4 separate regions of the Homo sapiens genome follow, and all the other regions are linked to region 2. Evidence: promoter capture Hi-C in 16 types of primary human blood cells and fetal thymus (Javierre and others, 2016). All regions are on one chromosome and are shown on one strand. The core of a region is centred on a gene start or on the middle of the fragment in contact, and the rest is flanking DNA. Distances in the headings are between cores, read along the strand shown. Region 1 holds the start of KRT25 (keratin 25). Region 2 holds the start of KRT31 (keratin 31). Region 3 overlaps LOC105371775 (a long non-coding RNA gene). Region 4 has its middle 20 kb from the start of KRT25.

Region 1 (3,678 bases), core at 1,023-3,522, 640 kb after region 2:
TCACCTCACACCTGCTAGAATGGCTATTATGAAAATGACAAGAAATAACAAGTGTTAGTAAGAAAGTGGAGAAAGAAAATCCTTGTACACTGTTTGTGTAAATTTAAATTAATACAGCCATTATGGAAAGCAGTATAGTGATTCCTCAAAAAATTAAAAGTAGAACTACCATGTGACCCAACAATCCCACTACTGAGTATTGAAAGGAAACGAAATCAGTATGTCAAGGAGATATCTGCATTCCATGCACATTGTAGCATGATTCACAATAGCCAAGAAAGGGATTCAACCTAAGCATCCATCAACAAATGAAGTAATAAAGAAAATATAGTATATATACCCAATGGGATACTATTCAGCCTTTAAAAAGGGAAATTCTGTCATTTGTGACAACATGGATGAACCTGTTGGATGAAATGCTATGAACCATACATCTGATCAAGGCTTAATATCCAAAATATATAAGTAATTCAAACAACTCAATAACAAGAAAAGAATGTGATTAAAAAGACATTTGTCAGCCAGGGACAGTGGTTCACGCCTGTAATCCCAGCACTTTGGGAGGCCGAGGTGGGAGGATCACGAGGTCAGGAGATCGAGACCATCCTGGCTAACACAGTGAAACCCCATCTCTACTAAAAATACAAAAAGAAATTAGCCGGGTGTGGTGGCGGATGCCTGTAGTCCCAGCTACTCAGGAGGCTGAGGCAGGAGAATGGCTTGAACCCAGGAGGCGGAGCTTGCAGTGGGCCCAGATCGCACCACTGCACTCCAGCCTTGGCGACAGAGTGAGGCTCCGTCTCAAACAAAAAAAAAAAAGACATTTCTCAAAAGACATACAAATAGCCAATAGGTTTATGAAAAGGTGCTCAACATCACTAATCATCAGGGAAGTGCACTAGGGAAATTTTGGTCAAAGAATACAAAATTTCATTTAGGTGGGAAGAATAAGTTCAGGATAACTATTGTACAATATGGTGACTATAGTTAATAACAATAAGAAAGTAGATTTTAAATGTTCTTACCACAAAATAGGTATGTGAGGTAATAGATATGTTAATTAGCTTGATTTGGTCATTACACAATATATTCATATATCAAAAAATCATGTCGTGCACCATAAATATATACAATTTTTATTTCTCATTTTTTTTTTTTTGAGGCAGAGTCTCATTCTGTCACTCTGGCTGGAGTGCAGTGACACAATCTTAGCTCACTGTAACCTCTGCCTCCCAGGTTCAATTGATTCTCTTGCCTCAGCCTCCCGAGTAGCTGGGATTACAGGCACCTCGCCATGATGCCTGGCTAATTTTTGTATTTTTAGTAGAGATGGGGTTTCACCATGTTGGTGAGGCTGGTCTCAAATGCCTGACCTCAAGTGATCCACCTGCCTCAGCCTCCCAAAGTGCTAGGATTACAGGCGTAAGCCACTGTGCCTGGCCTTATTTGTCAATTTTTTATATTTCCATAATAGGTAGAGTTTTCAGTAAATATATGTGAATTCCCACCGACTAAATACCTTACTGATGACTTTCATCTGAGCTAAACCACAATAAATTAAGACAGAAAAAATAGTTCCTACCAGGTTTGCTTCAGATTTTGCAGGGTCAGGAAATAAGTTAATGTCTTTCCAAACTCCCACAAAACATAACACCAATTAGGGGTGTGCTCCTAATTACCAAAATGGATAAGGTAAGACAACTCTCCTCAGTCATAAGTGTCAACAGAATATGATGCTCATGTCAGCCAGAATGGAAGTTAACTTCCCATGGGAAAGAGTGGCAAGAGGAATTTAAAAATAAAAACAAAAACCTATTGGTTGAAGAACCAGGTTGGGGAAATGATTACAGTTCTATTCTCTACTTATGTGGAAAAACTTGTGAAAATAAAAGCAGAAAAAGCCTCAGAAACATCACAATCTGCCTTGGCATAATAGCCCAAAACCATGATGCTAAATTTCTATCCTGTAATGAGCTGATGAGGTTTACTTCCAAGGATGGAAGTGAAGAATGACTCACTCAGCATTTAAAAACGTAATAATGAACCTGACATTGCTCCACCCAGACCCATTTCTCAGATAACCACCAACCTGAGGGCAACTGCCCTCCTACAGGAATGAGCCCAGCAAAGTGAGTTACTAATTAGAAAAAATCACCCAATTATGCCAACTTGCTGAGACTGGCAAGCCATGTTTTACTCTGTGTAGGCAGAATTTCATTCAGAACACACTTGGGACTTGCCTATAAAAAGGCAAACCAAACCTTTTAGACAAGAAGGCACTCCATTCTGGCTTTCACAAATACAGCTCTGCAACGCGTTTGCCCTGATACCATGTCTCTTCGACTTTCCAGTGCATCCAGGAGGTCCTGTCCTCGTCCCACCACTGGATCACTCAGACTCTATGGTGGGGGAACCAGCTTTGGTACTGGAAATTCTTGTGGCATTTCAGGGATTGGAAGTGGCTTCTCTAGTGCCTTCGGAGGCAGCTCATCGGGAGGAAACACAGGGGGAGGTAATCCCTGTGCTGGCTTCACTGTGAATGAGCGGGGGCTCCTTTCTGGCAATGAGAAGGTGACCATGCAGAACCTCAATGACCGCCTGGCATCCTACCTGGACAGTGTGCATGCTCTGGAGGAGGCCAACGCTGACCTGGAGCAGAAGATCAAGGGCTGGTATGAGAAATTTGGGCCTGGCTCTTGCCGTGGTCTTGATCATGACTATAGCAGATATTTCCCAATAATTGATGACCTTAAAAATCAGGTAAGAAATCATACTGCACAATCATTTTCATGTACCTTTATTTCTAAATTTTGTTTTCCTTTCTTTATTAAATTCTAAAAACATTTATCATTCCTACTTGTGATTTTTTTTTTTTTTTTTTTTTGAGAAGGAGTTTTGCTCTTGTTGCCCAGGCTGGAGTGCAACCGTGGGATCTTGGCTCACTGCAACCTCCACCTCCTGGGTTCAAGAGATTCTCCTGCCTCAGCCTCCCAAGTAGCTGGGATTACAGGTGCCTGCCACCATGCCCTCCTACTTGTGATTTCTTAAAGAGAATTCCAATTTAGCATTAGAAATAAGCATTAAGTAGATTCAGTTGGTTTACTTCATGATAAAAGTCAAATTCCCATTTCTAGATCATCGCATCCACCACCAGCAATGCTAATGCTGTTCTGCAGATCGATAATGCCAGGCTTACAGCTGATGATTTCAGACTCAAGTAAGTAGACTGCCAGAGTGAAATGAATTCATGGCAATTCATGCAACGCATTACATCAAATTTAGCAACTCTTATTCCAAAATTATAAAACACTTGAATTTCACATAAACAGGATGTTATTACTTTTTTATGCTTTGACTATTAAATACAAAGCATGAACTGCTATTAAAACTAGCGCCCAATACCCTAGTTCTTTTTCTGTCAAATACTGCAAAGTAGAAACAATAATTATTATACAACAAGCTTTGAAAATGCCTCTTGTGGCCAAATCTTCAAAATTCCAGAATGCTAGCATTTGTCATTGATCAGTGACTAGTGACTATGTCTCCAACCATGTGACAAATTAGGAAATCATTAACACTCTTTAAGGTATGAAAATGAGCTGGCTCTTCACCAGAGTGTAGAGGCTGATGTCAATGGGTTACGAAGAGTTTTGGATGAAATAACCCTGTGCAGAACAG
Region 2 (3,539 bases), core at 185-2,684:
AGCTACTCAGGAGGCTGAGGCAGGAGAATGGCATGAATCTGGGAGGCGGAGCTTGCAGTGAGCCGAGATCGCTCCACTGCACTCCAGCCTGGGTGACAGAGCAAGACTCCATCTGAAAAAAAAAAAAAAATATATATATATATATATATATAAAGATTAAAGCCAACATGGATATATTATGGAATATAGGGTCAATTCATATGAAGTTTAAAGATCAACTACAAGTGATTTCAGGCCGTGGAGGCCCCTTTGGGCTATCTCCTGACTTTCCTAACATATCCATCTACTCTGTTCGGATACTATGGATAACCTTAGGAAATGTTTGACAAAGACCTCCTTATTCCTTTCTCTCTGCCCCTGAATATCTTTCCTAGATTATTTAAATGCATTTTTTTTGTTTTGTTTTGTATTTTGAGATGGAGTCTTGCTCTGTCACCAGGCTGGAGTGCAGTGGCACCATCTCGGCTTACTGCAACCTTCACCTCCCAGGTTCAAGTGATTCTCCTGCCTCAGCTTCCCGAGTAGCTGGGACTACAGGTGGGTGCCACCATGCCCAGCTAATTTTTTTGTATTTTTAGTAGAGATGGGTTTCACTATGTTGGCCAGGATGGTCTCTATCTCTAGACCTCGTGATCCGCCGGCCTCGGCCTCCCAAAGTATTGAGATTACAGGCGTGAGCCATTGTGCCCAGCCTTAAATGTGTTTTTTATGGCTCTCTCGGTTTGCACTTTTCAGCCTCTTTCAAAACGATCTCTTACCCCAGAAACTTCTTGTTCTCCAACTAGTTATCAAAGCCTCTACCTTTAAAATTCTCTCCTCTACAATTTTCTTAAGTAATATGTGGTGGTGGGGGGGAAGTATTACACGGACCCGTAAAACACAAATCGCTGTCTAATCTTTTCAGTCGTGTCCTCCATTGATTCTAATCATCCACCTTAAGGCTTCCAAGGCACAGAATGCTCCATCATTTGAAGATTCTTCTCTAAATGCAGAGGGAAAGACAGTCCACTGTGGCCTCTTAATGCAACTTCTTCCTCAAATCAATCCGTGTTTCTCCCTAGAAACGGCAGGTGGACCAGGACATGAGTATGTTTATGGGCCTGCAGAATTATGTGACACAAAAGAATGTCATCGGATGGATCAACACCTCAATTAATGAGGGCAGATACTTGGGCTGGACTGTGTAGCCTCTTTGAAGGCCTACCACAGAACTCTGATTTCATGGGTGGACTGTCTGCGGAGGAGTCCTGACTTAGCAAGAAGCCCAAGTAAAGAATTTTATGGGAGAAGGGACTCTTCAGAGGAAGGCAAATAACAGACTGAAGGAAAGGGCGTTTGAAAAGAAGTGAAGAAATAAAAAGAAAAAAGACATTACATACTGTGTCCACACCCTCTGCAGTGGGATATAAATGCTCCCTAGAGGAAGGAGACCCACAGCTCTGTGGCTTGGAGAATTTAGACTCTGTCTTCAGCCAGGCACTCCCTCCCTCCCTCCCAGCACTATGCCCTACAACTTCTGCCTGCCCAGCCTGAGCTGCCGCACCAGCTGCTCCTCCCGGCCCTGCGTGCCCCCCAGCTGCCACAGCTGCACCCTGCCCGGGGCCTGCAACATCCCCGCCAATGTGAGCAACTGCAACTGGTTCTGCGAGGGCTCCTTCAATGGTAGCGAGAAGGAGACTATGCAGTTCCTGAACGACCGCCTGGCCAGCTACCTGGAGAAAGTGCGTCAGCTGGAGCGGGACAACGCGGAGCTGGAGAACCTCATCCGGGAGCGGTCTCAGCAGCAGGAGCCCTTGCTGTGCCCCAGTTACCAGTCCTATTTTAAGACCATTGAGGAGCTCCAGCAGAAGGTGAGCGGCATTGCTGTCATCTCCAAGCAAGAGAGTTTGCTGTGATTCTGTCTGTGATAGAGAAGTGTGTTTCTTGCTTCTGTGCTGTCATAATTCTTGCTTCCTCTTTTATTTCAAAATGGCTTAAGTCATTTTTAAAAAGTTGATGATTTCATATTTATTTTCAGTCCTCACTAAGCCACCTCTCACTCCCCAGATCCTGTGTACCAAGTCTGAGAATGCCAGGCTTGTGGTGCAGATCGACAACGCCAAGCTGGCTGCGGATGATTTCAGAACCAAGTGAGTTGTTCGGAATTTGCACTAGTGTCAATTGCTTCTGTTTAATCTTTAAAGAAAAGGGATTTCCATCTGAAAACAGATCTACCCACTTGTTGTGAAGGATTCTGCAGAGGACTGGGGAGAACCAAGCAAAGAAATGCAAAAATGGATGAGGACTCACATCAATCTGTTTGTTTTGGGATGAATATTGGGTATTGATGGAGCCTCCAGAAACCTCTGTCTCCTGGGCCTATTCATTACAGAAAGTGGAAAGATAAGGCACATGAGGTTATCAAAAATCATTCCTGTGAGTCTTGAAGATCTACCAGGTAGTACTCTGACCCTGTCCTTGCGCAGGTACCAGACCGAGCTGTCCCTGCGGCAGCTGGTGGAGTCGGACATCAACGGTCTGCGCAGGATCCTGGATGAGCTGACCCTGTGCAAGTCCGACCTGGAGGCCCAGGTGGAGTCCCTGAAGGAGGAGCTGCTCTGCCTCAAGAGCAACCATGAGCAGGTGAGACTAGAAATGAGAAATGCACAAACCTGTCTCAGCCTCTGGCTCAGGGTTGCTTTAGTGATTTGGGGCAGCAGAATGCAGAGTATGAGTACAAGACTGAGGGTTTCCTTTGAAAACATCACGGTAAGAGAAAAATTGGAGAGAGATAAGACCTGTTCATGTTCCCAGACAGGAAACATCTTTCACTTTAAACTAGCACATTATTTGAGTTGCCCGGAGCAGCTCCATGTGCTTGCAGTTGATCAATAGTTGTAGAATGAGTCCTAGCATTGCAGTGTTATTGCTTTGTAAAGTCTTTTTTTTTTTTTTTTGGCAAAGGCCAAGAAAAAAAATATCAAACCTTATAAATGTGAGTCTCTACTCTTTCAAAGTATTGGTGAAGAGTGTTTGTGAGATTCTTCCTCTCTCTTGGGAGGGGCCATGACATGCTCTTACCTCTTACTTGACAGCAAGAGTTTTTTGATATATGGTCTGAAATTGCACAGCCTATTTTTTTTGGCATTCTGAGGTCCTCACAGCCAATTGTAAACTGGGAAAGTTGAATATCAATTAGTTCATCCTTCAGTGGCATCCAAGCAAACTTTTGGGATTTTTTTCTGAAGCCAAGTGCCATGGCACAGCAGATGGTGGGGAGGGGGCTATGCCACATGGAGTGCCTTGAGCTGTCACAAACTGCTCCACTCAAAGTTTCTTTTCCGAGAAAATAGACTAACAGGGTTTCAACAAGCAATGCCATTCCTTAGAGTTCATTCTTTGCTGAGCATAGTAACTCTTGTATTTTCTGCATCCATAGGAGGTCAATACCCTGCGCTGCCAGCTTGGAGACCGCCTCAATGTGGAGGTGGATGCTGCTCCCACTGTGGACCTGAATCGGGTGCTGAACGAGACCAGGAGTCAGTATGAGGCCCTGGTGG
Region 3 (3,344 bases), core at 575-3,074, 700 kb after region 2:
CATTAGAATGCTCTTGAAATAGCTGAATTAACAACTTTGCTTTAATTGTTTCTATGCTTCAATAAATTTACTTTTGCAAGTTAATTATTACTTATTTTTTTAAAAAGTATTTTACCTAGGAAGGAAGCTATCAAGTATGATCTAGCTGCATGACTATATTACTAATGTCAGTTCATTCTTTATATCTTACTGTTGTAACTGAGCGAGTTATAGAGAAATGACACACTCTGAGACTAATTCAGGAGTCCTTTTATTGCCGGCGAACAAGACGGCTAGAGCTCAAAATTCTCTCGGCCCCGAAGAAGGGGCTAGATTTCTTTTTATATCGTGGTCTAAATAGGGGAGAGGGAGTTTAGCTGAAGCAATTTTTACAGAAGCAGAACAGGCAAACCAATTAAGAAAGATTAATTGGTTACAGAAACAGTTACAGAAAAGTAAACAGTTCCAGGTGCAGGGGCTCAAACTATCACAAAGAGATAATGCAGGGGCTTTGGGTGCCATCCCCCAAGCGCGTCCTCAGGAACTGCTGATTTAGCTTGCCTCGATATCTCATCAGTAAGCGCATTCCTGGATGTGCTCGGAGTCAGCTTGCACTACTTATGCCTTTAAGGGAGGGGAGCTGCAAGTGAAGAAACAAAAATGGAGTCTGTCCGGCTCTCTCAGCTAAGAGAGACAATCAGGTTAAAACGAGGTAGGGTATCACATTACCTTCTTTATACAATTCAGATTATAGTCATTTTTTTAATGTGGGCATTTTTAATGGCATCACATAAGAACTCAGTGGCATGATAGCTGAAATTAGACTACCGTGTCAACGGCTTAGCCCACAAAGAAGGATGTGATTATTTTAATAATCAACTTATAATTAATGTCTAGTTTATATATGTCCATCACTGAACTCGATATTTTATAAGATAAAAAAGAAACTCAAAATCTCCCTCCTACTTCAAAAAGCTCACATTTCAGCAGAGAAGAAGAGCTAAAACACAAAGAAGACAGCAAGCAATAAAAAGCTGTTAATAGTAAAGACTTGATTTCACAATCTGCATCAGAAGTGACATAGGAATCAGACATGTGTGTTTACAGGACATTTAGGACAGGGGCCAAAAAAGAGTCTTGGGAAATAAGATTGGCTATGTGATATGGCAATCTGATTTCCTGAAACCTTGAAAGCCCCAAAGAGAAGAGATCCTCAGGCACTTGTTCCCCTGCCAAATCTAGCCACATCTTTAGCCAAAACCTGCCACTTCGCCAAGCTGGTGTTTCTTTTCCCCAGTCTCCACTGCTAAGATCTTTCATCCCGTTGGTGGTCATAGCCCTATTCTTTCATTTCTACAGTATCCCTGAGGCCACATGGCTTTGTCTTGTCTTGTTTGGGATGATGAAACCTGTTAAGATTGGGTAGGAGGTGGTACGGGCCCCAGGAAGAACCAGGCATAGCACCAACCCAGGCTGGCTAAGGGCTTTCTCAATCAAGGAATTTAATATGCCCATATCACAAATTAGAGAATCAACTCTACAAGCCAGTCCTCAAGGAAAGAACACGGGACGTGGCATAAAAAGCCAAATGTAAAGTTATAAAAGGACAAATCTGAACATGTATCTTCCAATATAAAACCAATTAAGAATTGTGTGAGCATATCAAACCTATCATCAAAACATGTAGTTTTTCATCTTCTGGGCACATTGAATAAAACTTAAAATGAACCTCTGGGTACATTATGACTTCTGCTTAAATAGCTAACCACAGAATAAGGTTAATAGCTAACCACAGAATAAACATTAAACCACTACTCAAAGAAAAAGAGCAATGTTAAGTTGCTTAAGTCAAAGCTGTTTTCCACCATCAAATCATTACAATAAATAAAACCCTGAATGCTTCTTCTCTGCTGAAATACTAAAAGTCTGAACCAGCTCATCCAACTGGATTCATAGCTCAAGAGCAGAAATGGAAATCTGCCGTAAGCAGCCTGCAGAACCTAAGCCATCCCGGCCACATCAGCGAAGCCTCTCTCTGTGGGTCTTCTCAAGTCTAACCTTCTAGCTGTGGATTTTGGCCACCTGAGACCTATGTTCATGGCTAGTACTATTTTCATGTCAAGGCAAAAGTATAAGGCTACTCTGAAAGTCATCTCGAGGTGAAAACCCTCATCTGTTCTTCCTTGTCATGCGTTAAGATGCTGCGTTTGTACTGAATGATTGTTTACAAATATAGAAAAGGCCCAATCATAGACACCAGAACACTGAGACACAATAGAATGTGTTGTTAAGGGCATGTTCAATTTTGAAAACTGAAACTATTCAACCATTTTGGATCATAAAACGTATTTACAGTGCTGAATAAAAAGTTAAGGACATGGTGTTCATACATTATTACTTGCCTTAAAATTATTTTAAAACTCTACAATAGGAATATGTTTATTGTGAGACCCTAAAGTTCAGCTCTCCAGGCAATTTTTTTGCTTTGTTTTGTTACAGGGTCTCGCTCTGTTGCCCAGGCTGGAGTGTAGTGGTGCCATCTCGATTCACCTGCAGCCTCAACTTCCTGGGCTCAAGCAATCCTCCCACCTCAGCCTCCTGAGTAGCTGCAGGCAACCATGCCCAGCTAATTTTGTTTATTTTTTGTAGAGATGGAGTTTCACTATGTTGCCCAGGCTGGTCTCAAACTCCTGGGCTCAAGCAATCCTCCCACCTCGGCCTTCCAAAGGGCTGGGGTTATAGGCATGAACGACTGCATTCAGCCTCAACTTTTGAATGAGAGGAACACATTTCTTTTTTCTAAGAGTGGATTTACTGTAAGAAGGGAGAGCTCATGCCCACATGCACATGGGCTTTCTTTTTTGTTTGTTTGTTTTTTTTGAGACAGAGTCTCTCGCTTGTCGCCCAGGCTGGAGTGCAGCGGCGCGATCTCGCCTCCACCTCCCAGGTTCAAGCGATTCTCCTGCCTCAGCCTCCTGAGTAGCTGGGATTACAGGCACGCGCCACCAAGCCCAGCTAATTTTTGTATTTTTAGTAGAGACGGGGTTTCACCATGTTGGCCAGGCTGGTCTCGAACTCCTGACCTTGGGATCCGCCCACCTCGGCCTCCCAAAGTGCTGGGATTACAGGCGTGAGCCACCGCACCCAGCCTCGCACATGGGTTTTCACCCGTTGACTTTTAATCCAGAGATTCACAGGGTTGTTTTTTCTTTCTCACCTCAGGGAAGTATACACAAGAATGATGAGAATGGTCGACGTGGCATCCATCCTCACAGAGATGACAAACAAGAAACAAGGTTCACAGCAGGCAGCTCAGAGTAAACGGCTAAAGTATTTGAAGCTCTAAGGAAAGTGGCCTAAACTGG
Region 4 (3,397 bases), core at 428-2,927, 660 kb after region 2:
CTCAACGATGGCCGCAGGGCTTGCCCATGACCCCCTGTACACCATCAGTAACCAAACATGCTAGGCACAGCAGGGGGGGGGGTCCAGGACCCCAGTCCAGACTTACCAGCTGCTAGTATTCATTCTGACTCATCCATGTCCATGCCATATAATTGTTAACTATTTTGGATATCACACCTGGTTTTATTCATTTTCCCTTGCTTTTTTCTTATTCACGTCTTAGAAAATATTTCAGAAACCATTTGTAGCCTCAGGAATGGCCTAGTGGTTGTACATAGAACTATTTCCACAATTCCAGGTGATCAATTTCCAGGGCATGAGAATGTGATCAGGAGCGGTAGTCCTATGAGGATTCAGACTACAGCTGAGTGGTTCCAGCCTCAGTGAGCAGGTCAGAGCACCATGGCTTGGACCTTTTCCTCTAATTCATTTTATTAATGCATCAAAGGAATATATCAAGCTAAAGAAAATGTAGTCCCTTACTTGTCAGAGAAGGCAACACTGAAGAGTGGTTAAGGGAACAAGCCTCGAATTTTCTGGATTTAAAACTATTTCTACCCCTTTCTAGCTGTGTTTTCTTGGGCAAGTTATCTGATTACCTTGTCTCTCAATTTCCTCACCTGTAAAATGGTGATAATAATATTAACACCTATTCAGAGAGTTGGTGTGATGATTAAATATCTAATCTATGCGCTTTGGAGAGTGTCTGGTTCATATTAAACCCTCAATCAATGTAGCTACTACGGTGAAAAGGAAATAAAAATTTAAAAATTAATTGTATGTTATCAGAGAAGTTTAAAGATAAAAGAGAGCTTAGAGACTAGTCCGTGTCATTTCCCCTTGAGGAAACTAATGCCCCATGAGAAGTGGTTGATTCAGAGGCATTTCTAGTAAGAAGAATGAGAGATTTCATCTTATCAATTCTCTTACTTATTTATTTATTTTTGTAGAGATGGGGTCTCCCTATGTTGCCTTGTCTAGTCTCAAATCTCTGGGCTCAAGCAATCCTCCCTCCTTAACCTCCCAAAGTGCTGGGACAGGCATGAGCCACCACGCCCAGCCTTATCAATCCTCTTAAAGGTGAATGACAATTCTCCCTACTTTACCATAAGACTCAGACAATGAGTTGAATAAATTAGCCAATTAAAACAAAAATATTCAGGAGAAAATGACCTAGTTCCAATGACTGTGTTGCCAAAATGGCAAGTCTACAAAGAACATACAGAGAGCACTGTTCCTAATCCTGTCCTCTGTGATACTTATACCTGCAGGAACACGGCACTCATTGCAGCCTAAACCTTCCTGCTCAGATGGGAGGTTCTATGTGGCAAGGTGGTTAACATGCCTGAACTAGTGTCAAAGGTAGGAAGTAATTGAAAGCTTTCCAAAAAGGGAAGAAAAATGTAACCACATTGGTTCTTGAGGGCATTCTGCTTAATATGGAAAGAGGTATATTTATATACCTAAGAGAGCATGGCTATAATTTGTAAATTACCTAGAGGATTTAGTAACTGAAACATAACCAGAAGTCCTCACTCTCCACCAGTTTACAGGGATCCATGAAGTCTTCTTAACATTGATGCACTAATTTAATTTTTCTAGTTATTTAGTTGCCACCTATAAAAAACTACATACAAAACCTCTGGCTACCAGTCTTTTCCACTATAATTTAATGCTCTGCACTAGGCCACTGATACTCTCAAGTCTCATGATATGCTACAATTACTTGGAAGTTTCTATCCAAAAAGGGAGAAAAGAAACACCCTTCTACTTTTTCTGAGCTCCATTCTATAGGGGTATGTTGGGGCCCCCAAGACCATCCTCAATTTCAATGGTTCACTAGAAGGACTCACAGATCTCAGAAAAATGTTATACTCATGGTTATGGTTTATTACAGTAAAAGGATACACATTAAAATCAGCAAAGGCAAAAGGCACATAGGGCCATGTCCAGGAGAGACGAGGCATAAGCTTCCAATTGTTCTTTCACATGGAGTCACAAAAAACAGCACTTAATTCTCCCAGAAATGATGTGTGACAATGCATACATAGTAATGTCAACCAGAGAAGCTTGCCCAAACCTTGGTGTCCAGAGTTTTTATTGGGGGTCAGTCACTTAGGTATGGGACGCCCACATGGTTCACCTCAGTTACTCAGTCTGCAGCCCCTCCAGAAGTCAAACTGATACAGCGTAGCCCAAGAACGCCACTATAAGTCACACTGTTAGCATAAACTCTCTGCCGTGGCCTAAAGCCCCAGGTATACAAAGACACTCCTATCAGGCAGAATATTCCAAAGCTGAGAGCTTTTTCCCCAAGAGCTGGGTAAGGGCTACGCCTTTCTTTGGTATGTGCAAGATCTAAACACCCCAAGCCTGCTGAGTTAACCCTTTCCTGCAGAAGAGGTCTCCTGTGCAGAGCCCCAAGATAGTACGGAGTTTCACTTCAGCACATTCATCCCCTACAAGTCCTACCCCCAACTGCCAGCATGCATGAGCACCCCACACTCAAGCCCTCCATACCCTTGGACATCTAGGCTCTGTCGTCACATACAGCTCATAATGGAGTCCATCCTTCCTTAAAATGAGTTCTCTTGGGCTGGGCATGGTGGCTCATGCCTGTAATTCCAGCACTTTGGGAGGCTGAGGCAGGCAGATCACCTGAAGTCAGGAGTTCGAGACCAGCCTGGCAAGCATAGTGAAAACCCATCTCCACTAAAAATACAAAAATTAGTTGGCGCAGTGGCAGGCACCTGTAATCCCAGCTACTCAGGAGGCTGAGGCAGGAGAAATGGCTGAACCCAGGAGACAGAGGTTGCAGTGAGCCGAGATCATGCCACTGCACTCCAGCCTGGGTAACAGAGCAGGACCCAGTCAAAAAAAAAAAAAAAAAAAAAAAAAAAGCTGCACACAGTGGCTCATGCCGGTAATCCCACCACTTTGGGAGGCCGAGGAGGGCAGATCACGAGGTCAGGAGTTCAAGACCAGCCTGGCCAACACAGTGAAACCCCGTCTCTACTGAAAATACAAAAATTAGCTGGGCCTTGTGGTGGGCACCTATAATCCCAGCTACTGGGGAGACTGAGGCAGGAGAATCGCTTGAACCCAGGAGGCGGAGGCTGCAGTGAGCCAAGATTGCGCCACCGTACTCCAGCCTGGGTGACAGAGCAAGACTCCATCTCAAAAAAAAAAGAGTTCTCTGTTAGAGACCGTCTTTAATATTTAGCATCTGCTGAGTTCCTGCCAATCTTCGGCACATGCATGTATGCAAAGCCTAATTGCAGAAAAGACTTGAGATCTTTCTACAGAAGTCACCTCAGCAGAAAATAAAGACAATTACCCCTGAGAGTACCTAAATCTCCACTCAGGCTCAGAGGGATCTAACAGTGTTCGGAATCTT

Evidence for each region. Contacts are between HindIII fragments. The CHiCAGO score rates a contact against its expected background, and 5 or more counts as called.
Region 1: the fragment with the promoter of KRT25 here is called in contact with the fragment with the promoter of KRT31 in region 2 in 8 of 17 cell types (monocytes, M2 macrophages, M0 macrophages and 5 more); the score reaches 11.7 in monocytes.
Region 3: a fragment that was not itself captured here is called in contact with the fragment with the promoter of KRT31 in region 2 in 2 of 17 cell types (M2 macrophages and erythroblasts); the score reaches 7.2 in M2 macrophages.
Region 4: a fragment that was not itself captured here is called in contact with the fragment with the promoter of KRT31 in region 2 in 1 of 17 cell types (M2 macrophages); the score reaches 5.7 in M2 macrophages.

What each region holds. Positions count from the first base shown.
Region 1 is chr17:40,753,925-40,757,602 of GRCh38, reverse strand. It overlaps KRT25 (keratin 25), which reads left to right and starts at 2,272. Exons shown (of 8, transcript NM_181534.4): 1 at 2,272-2,760; 2 at 3,135-3,217; 3 at 3,587-3,678. The coding sequence starts at 2,332. The HindIII fragment of the contact is 3,727 bases long and covers 1-3,462 here.
Region 2 is chr17:41,395,503-41,399,041 of GRCh38, reverse strand. It overlaps KRT31 (keratin 31), which reads left to right and starts at 1,434. Exons shown (of 7, transcript NM_002277.3): 1 at 1,434-1,850; 2 at 2,047-2,129; 3 at 2,466-2,622; 4 at 3,419-3,539. The coding sequence starts at 1,503. The HindIII fragment of the contact is 10,261 bases long and covers 1-3,539 here.
Region 3 is chr17:40,694,731-40,698,074 of GRCh38, reverse strand. It overlaps LOC105371775 (a long non-coding RNA gene), which reads right to left. Exons shown (of 4, transcript XR_934751.2): 4 at 235-619. It overlaps KRT24 (keratin 24), which reads left to right. Exons shown (of 8, transcript NM_019016.3): 8 at 1-84. Among named protein-coding and RNA genes, the nearest start is that of KRT24, 7.3 kb to the left of the region's middle. The HindIII fragment of the contact is 3,749 bases long and covers 1-3,344 here.
Region 4 is chr17:40,733,135-40,736,531 of GRCh38, reverse strand. No RefSeq gene overlaps it. Among named protein-coding and RNA genes, the nearest start is that of KRT25, 20 kb to the left of the region's middle. The HindIII fragment of the contact is 590 bases long and covers 1,383-1,972 here.